2 separate regions of the Homo sapiens genome follow, and region 1 is linked to region 2. The links are contacts of gene promoters, found by promoter capture Hi-C in human tissues and cell types (Jung and others, 2019). All regions are on one chromosome and are shown on one strand. Each heading gives the region's core, a stretch centred on a gene start or on the middle of the fragment in contact. The rest is flanking DNA. Distances are from core to core; before and after follow the strand shown. Region 1 overlaps TMEM132D (transmembrane protein 132D). Region 2 holds the start of TMEM132D (transmembrane protein 132D).

Region 1 (3,794 bases), core at 355-2,854, 370 kb after region 2:
TATTCAGGTTGCATATTAAGAACACTTCCACTGACAAGATTGCGTAAGTAGGGAGTTTCTCTTTGGGGCAATGTTGTCATCAGCCTAAGTCTCTGTACACAGTGCTTTGGATAATGAACTCAAATTTATAGACTTTAGGAGGCTGACACATCCCATCATTTGGAGTCCCCTGGTGGTTGTGGTGGAGGGAGATGCAAATCCTCCATCCAAATCCATCTCTCTTTCCACTATAGTGACAGGGTCACAGTGGGGATACGGCTGTCCAGGTAAAGACTGACTTCCCAGCACTCGCTGCTCTTGCAGTCAGGTGTGGCCATGAGACTAGGCTCCTTCCAATGGGAGGTGAGTGAATTTGGGCATGCAGTGCCCACCTCACCTGCTTAAGAGGAAATCCCTTGTTCTGGTCTACTGCTCTTCCCTCTTCCTCTTGGCTGGGATGGTCATGAGCACAGAGACATTAGAAGTTATACATTAAAAACAGTAGAGATGCCTTCAGCCTTGATCCCCAAATGACTGAGTGGAACAGAGACACCCAGCAACCTGGGTTACCAGCAATGGATGTTCACAGGAGGAGGAAATACACTTCCTTGTTCTTGAAGTCACTGAATCTTAGCCTCCCCTTGTTATATAATTGGAAATGATCATAAATAACTCAGGCTACGTTAAACAAGAAGGGACTGGATGGGAGGATGGGGAATATTTGTATGCCTAAAGGGAAGGCTGAGAACCAGATTCAGAAATGTTAGCTGTGTTAATTCCTGCAAACCAGAGAGAAGGAAGCAATAGACAGTTGTAGCAGGGCCACAAGGCTGGGTGAATTTCCCCCAACCTTTTTTATTTGCTGTGTCTCTTTGTTCAAGATTATATTCCAGAGAGAATCTTTCAGCTGGACTGGCTTAGGTCATGTGTCCACCTTTTGTCCAGGGTTGGAGGGAGAAACTCTTGACTTACAAGTCTACCATGGTGGTATAGAATGGCAGAGAGGTGGGTCATATAAGCAAAATGAAGATACTGCTATCCAGGAAAGAGATTGGGTATGGGGAGCAAAAGCAACAATTGCGCACCACATTTCTGAACCCTGGATGCTGTACTTGAAACTCTGTGTGTGTGTGTTGATGATATATACATATTCTACATTATGTATACATATATGTATATACAAATTGCATTTATATATTTTTATATATATATGTATATAAAATATACACAGTCCCTGCAGTTCTATTATGTTTTAAAAACACAATATACCTTTAACCCCAGGCAGGTTTTGTTGATACCCAATCACAGTGCATGTGCATACTATGGGGAAAATTATGGCTTTCCCCCATCACCATGGTAGATATATTATTAAGCATAAATCTACAGCAAAGTATCTTCAAAATCAAGTGCTATGTTTATCTCTGTGTAATGAGGCTGTCAGTGTAACCTGTATTTATTGAACCACAAGTAGGTTATAAAACTTCCATTAATGAATGTAAGTAACTCAGTTGTCATAAACAAAGGGAGAAATTAGTATTTGGCTCAGACCCAGTGGAGCCCAGGGGCATGTGTTCTAGGAACTACTTTAATGGTTCCAAATGGTGCCACTGACAGCTCTGAGATTCGTGCTTCAAAATTATTAACCCAACACACACCGTGTTCAGTAAATACCGTGTCTACATCTCCGAAGAATGACCATCCAGTTTATTACATAGATTTTCCTTGATATTCACACACAAGGATACCTCTTGAGTATGCCTTCTTCAATTCTGAACATCTAAAACATGCCCTAGAAATGTGTGTTCTATTATGAAAATGTTCTGTGTCTCTGAAAGACAGTTCCCAGTGTCCTGTATAAAATTCCAGGAAAAAACATTTTTGCAGAAATAATGCTACCGACTATAGCTTCATTTGCTACAGTGGAATTATTAGCAAGAAATGTTGAATACTTCATGGGTTGAACAAGCCACTGTGTCCTTTCTTAAGAACTTGAAAAGGATTCATTGGAGAAACATCATCTGAATTCCACATAGCCTACTTATGAATAAAATTTCAGAAACATATAAGCCCATTATATATCAGAAAAGGCCTATGTACTGATATCTCCTGTATAATGAAAAGGTTGTCACAGCCAGGTTGATGACCTATTTATTTAAAGCAATGTTGATTCAATAAAATTCCACTGCAGAGTAATTGGGACAGCCTTTAGAATTCATCTTAGTATAATAGTAGCTGTCCACAGCGGATTGTACTTTTGTTCGCTACCACATCTTGGTTGCCTACAATTTAAATGAGTTTCTGCAAGGCAGGAATCCTAACTATTCGCCCAGTGTCTCACCTGAGTATCTAGAAAGGTCAGATGGCTTTTTGGCGTCTGCATGCGATTCCCAGTTTTTAAACGACTGCATTCAAAGTGTTTGCATGCATAATGATTATTTAAAACATCAAACGTGCATTTTCCCCACAGAAATAATGTTATACGTGATGATCATTTTCTAAAAATGCTGACTTTTGCAGTAGGGCCACACCTAGAAGCAATTCTTTCTCTCTTTGTGGACTCGCCAAATCAGTATGTGTCCTGGGGGTTCCTAAGACCACCCCCAGGTCCAGCGAGTCACTAGGAGAACTCACAGGACTCAGCATGTGGTGAGAATCACTGCTCCGATGTATTCGCCAAGGAAAGCAAAGCATGGTCCGCAGAGGGAAAAGGCACAGGGGAGGAGACCAGGCTCACGCTCCCAGGAATCCTCTCCCCGTGGAGTCACGCAGGATGTGCTTAATTCCTCCAATTCCTCCAGCATATGGCTGGGACAGCACTGCCAGAGGAGCTCACCTGAGCCCAGGAGTTCAGGGTTTTCACTGGGGATTGCTCATGGGGGCACCCTCTGCCTGGCACGTACCAAAATTCTATGCTCCTAGAAGACAACAAAGTGTCCAGCATAAACCACCTCATTTGCCCAGTCTAGGCACCGTGAGCCCCTCTGACCATGAAAAGGGAGGGAACGCTCCCCAAATCCAAGTTCCCAGCCACCCTTGCCAGCAGGCTTTCCTAAGGAGGGCAGTCTCAAGCCTGCAGCCTCAGGTCTTTTCTGCACACTACATTTTAAAATTGTTTCCATGGGAAATAGCGTTGTTGGTGTTAGGGACAGACGTGTCCTGCTTTTTCTCAAAGCCCTGGTCCTATGAGTGTCATCTCCCCCTCGCCTTTTGTCCCTAATATTAATAGCAGAAGATGGTCTCACTTTCTCCTCTGGCATGACAGAGAGGGATTTTGAGATGTAGGCTCTGGCACCATTGCCTTACTGCATGTTTATATAGGCACAATGATTACAAGTCTGGAGGAACTCCAAGTCGGCCGCTCCCACCATCCTCGTCTGCCTAGGTCAGGTACCATCAGCGTGCTCCAGGTTCCCCTTGGTACTCTCGCTTCAAGACTTTTCCTATTTTCCGCTGAGGGACTAAGAGAAAACACAGCAGGAAACATTAGCTTTTTCAAACTTCTAGGCCAGCTTGTAAATCAAAATCAAACTGTTTGCATTTTATTTTATTTTATATTTTATTTATTATTATTTTTCTTTTGAGGCAGGATCTCACTTTGTCACCCAAACTGGAGTGCTGTGGGTCGATCTCAGCTCACTGCAGCCTCCGCCTCCCAGGTTCAAGTGATCCTCCCACCTCAGCCTCCCAAGTAGCTAGGACTACAGGGGCACACCACCACACTCAAATAATTTTTGTATTTTTAGTTGAGATGGGGTTTCATTATTCTATGTTTCTTTTAGAAACCTGAATTGGAAAGAACATATGGAATGGAAAGC
Region 2 (3,750 bases), core at 600-3,099:
TTGACAGTCACCTTTTGTCTTCACATTACAGATAGAGAAACCTTCTGCAATGGCAAAAAGAAAAGTTATTTGATGATTGCAATTCAGGGGAAAAACTCAATTTGATTTAGAGAAACATAAAATGATTGTTTTTAATAAAGAACAGGGACCACTTGTTTCTAGTCAATATGTCTGAGAAATGTCTTACAAATAGACTCAGTGTCACAAATAGATGATTTACAAATAGACTCAGACCCACTGTAGCGTTAAGGATGGAACCTGGATTATGCATTCAGTGCGGGCATCAATTTTGACACTCAGAGACCAGGTGAAGGTGTCCAAGAGACGAAAGCTCAGCTCTCTCATCACTCAGGTGAAGGAGAAAGGGGACCAGTGGTTCCAGCACGTGTTCCGCAGGCCGGCAGCATCAGCATCACCTGGAACTTTTTAGGAACGGAGATCGGAAGTCCCACCTTGACCTGCCGAGATAGCTCTGGGGTGGGCCCAGCAACCCAGGTCTAACAAATTTTCCAGTGACTCTCCTGCTGGTTCAAACTTCAGAAACAGTGAAAGAGACAATCTCTTAGGGTCTTTGCAGCGTCGACTCTTAGGAATTTTACAGGAGAGCAATACAAAGAGAAAAGGCAACAAGTTTAAGAAACAAACAAAAGAAAAAACAGAAAGACAGATATATTCAGATAAGTAGATACAGAATAAAAGACAAGAGCACATCTCAAAGGACATGAACCCAGAAAAACAATCTTCGGTAGAACAGCAGTGGCTTTTTTGATCTTCCTTGAAACTTTGAAAGCTAAAAACTCTTAAAGCATTGGTATATTTCTGCAACTACAGGCATACAGGATAAAAAAGTCCATTGCCCCCTCAGTCAGATGATAACGACCCATTTTTATCTACTGAGGTGAATTCACCTCATTAGATTCAGGGCTTGTTGGTTTACAATATTCCTTAAAAATTCTGAATGCTTTTCTTCCCTCTGAGCTTTGATGGGGTTAATTTAAAGGCTCTCGTGGAGCAAAGCAGTTCTTGGGCTACAAATTACAGGACGGTGCTTAGGGATCTTGGTGTGGGAATGTCTTAGTTGGAGATTCCGGGCGGTGTTGAGAATCATGTCTTTTATCTTCTCAAAGCAATGTTGTCTCCTAATGGATCCATTTCCTTTCCCAGTGAGCCCTGGGGAGCACACGACATGTTTCTAGGGACACTAACTTGGGGGATCGCTCTGGGAAGGGGCTTGGGGCCAGCATGACCTCAGTGTGGCGTGTCAGAGACTTCCTCACTGCGATCCCTGGGAGATGCGCAGGGCGGGGCGAGGGCCCTTCTCCAGCCATCCTTGCGCTCTCCCTGGCGAAGAGCCTCAGGTGCCCCCGGGCTGGAGGACCTCCCCTGGGCCTGAGGTTTTGATGACGACGAGAGGCCGGTGGCCAGCTGGACACCTGTTGGGAGAGTGGGTGGCTCCGTCCCCGGGGTGCGCCCGCGCTGGGAGCCCTCGCCCGCCGCCACCGCGCGTCCGCGCTCGCAGGGAGGGTGGCCGGGAGGCTGGGCGTGGGGCGGCCAGGGGGAGGTGGGATTTACTTTGCGGATTGGGGCTCACAGCTGTCACTCCGAAAGGGTGGGGCTTTTTAAAAGCAGACAAATTTTTAAGGCGAAAGCCCCAGCCGGCTCCGGGCACCGTGGCGATCGCCTCCGTTCCGTTCCGGATGCGGTCCTTGCGGAGCGGAGCCCCCGCGCCTGCTGGCAGGAGGCAGCTGCGTTGCTCGGCCGCGTCCCCGAGCCGGCGGGCCCTCCTCCGCGCACATCTGGCCCGCCTCCCCCGGGCGCAGGGGGGAGCCCCGCGTCTCCGGAGCCTGCAGTGCGCTCGGCGCGCGTAGAGCCCCGCGAGCCCCAGCCGGGCCCGGGGCCGGGCGGGCCGAGGCGGCGGCCGGGGAGCAGCCGCACCCGCCAAACTTTGGGTGCCGGAGCGCGCGCGCGCCCGAGCCCCGAGGCGCAGCGGCCGGCCTGGGATGGGGGCTGCGGGCCAGGGAGCCCCGGGCCGCCCAGCGAGCCCGGCCACCCGCCCGGGGGGCTCCGAGCCGCCTCTGCCCGCGTCCCGGGCTCCGCAGCCCCGCCACCCCGGCGCCGCCTGCGCCAGCGCCCGCTAGCCAGCCCGGGAGCAGCTGGAGCCGCCGGAGCCCTGCGCCTGGAGGCGCCCCTCCTTGGGCCACCGGGGGCCACTCTTCGCTCGGGTAAACAGGAAAGGAAATACCCCCTGTGGATTAAAATTTAAAAAAAATTCTGTTGGGGTCGAAGGAGGGAGGTGGGGTTTGCCTGCGCGCGTGTTGGACTCCGGAGAGCAACTCAGGAGCCCGCGCGGTCGTCGCCTCCCGGCCTGGCCATGGACTGGCGGGAAGAGGGAGCAGGGCGCCCGGGCTGCTCGGGCCCCTAGCCGGGCGCTCCCTCGCCACCGGCCCCGCTGCGGGCCTCTAGGGGACTGAGACGGTCTCTTGTTCGCCTGGACGGCGCCGGGGAGCGGAGGATCTGCGCTCCGGGTCTCCAGGATGTGCCCGTCTGAGATGGGGACGCTGTGGCACCACTGGTCGCCGGTACTCATCAGCCTGGCCGCCCTGTTTTCCAAAGGTGAGGACGCCGCGGCCGCCAGGGCCCGGGGACTAACTTCGCCTGGAGTGAGTGTGTGGGAGTGTGTGGAGGATGGGGGCGGCCGGGAGAGAGGGCTCGTGTGCAAGTGTGTGTGCGCGCTTGTGTGCATGTGTGTGTGCGCGCGTGTGAACGTGCGCTCGTGCGGCAGCCAAGCTCCTCGGACGCCCCTTGGCCGAAGGTGCTTGTCCTGGAGCACTTGGGTGGGAGGCCTTAGGTGAGACTACTAAGGAGCCGAAAGGAAAGGAAGGCTGTTTCCTGAAAGCCTTTTCTGTAAAGGGAGAGGGCGTGGGGACCCTTGAGAGGAAAGGTGGCCTCTGGAGGGCCGAGCCGGCTGTCGGGGGAGGAGGGGATTGAGATGACCAGGGAGATTTCTGGAATTTGGGATTGACTTTCCCTGGTGGCACTGACCTATTTGGAAATAATTTTGGAGCACTCCTGTTGTATGGGAATACTATTTTGTGTATTATAGGCTGCCAAAAATATAGCCTGGGGGGCGGCTCTGAAGAAGGGGGATGGGTTTCTCCAGGTCTGCCGCTGTGAGGTTTGGGCACAGGGTCTGGCGCTCACCCTTCCGTAGGGTGCTGGGAGCAGCAGCGGCCCCGCAGGGTGCACGTGGAGTTTCAGCTACAAGTTGTGACCCGAATTTTCCCAGCGGAGCCCTGACTTGAAGCCATGTGTCAAGGCAGGAATTCCTCAATGTTTCCTCTTCTCTTCTGCCAGCATCCCTGTCTGTCATGGGAAGAGCAAGTTTGGAAGCTCTGGACAGTCATTCTTCCTTGAAGAGAAATGGTGTGATTTGTGCGGGAGATTCTTTCTCATGATTGACCTGGGCTGCTTGTGTGTGGTTCCCCCACCCGTGCCCCTTTCCTGCAGATAGATACACTGGGAGGAGAGTGAAGCGTCTCAGCAGTCTCTAATACGTGCTGCAAGAACCCTGTACCCATATTTTTCTGCAAAGATTTTTGAGATGAGATCTCTCTCAGAAACTTCAAAGCCAATTATCACGCACAAAGTCTTTTAATTACATGAATTGTCTGTTCTCTGAGTTCTTCCAGAATCACTGAGGTTATGTTGCTTTGGATCTGATAATAGATGAAGACAGTTGAAATGCCGAGT

The links. Contacts are between HindIII fragments. The study calls those that stand out against the background at their distance.
Region 1: a fragment that was not itself captured here is called in contact with the fragment with the promoter of TMEM132D in region 2 in 1 of the 25 tissues and cell types used here (mesendoderm cells).

What each region holds. Positions count from the first base shown.
Region 1 is chr12:129,531,820-129,535,613 of GRCh38, reverse strand. The region is part of intron 2 of TMEM132D (transmembrane protein 132D); the gene reads left to right. Among named protein-coding and RNA genes, the nearest start is that of TMEM132D-AS2, 330 kb to the right of the region's middle. The HindIII fragment of the contact is 4,730 bases long and covers 1-3,794 here.
Region 2 is chr12:129,902,124-129,905,873 of GRCh38, reverse strand. TMEM132D (transmembrane protein 132D) reads left to right here and starts at 1,849. Exons shown (of 9, transcript NM_133448.3): 1 at 1,849-2,613. The coding sequence starts at 2,535. The HindIII fragment of the contact is 10,076 bases long and covers 1-3,750 here.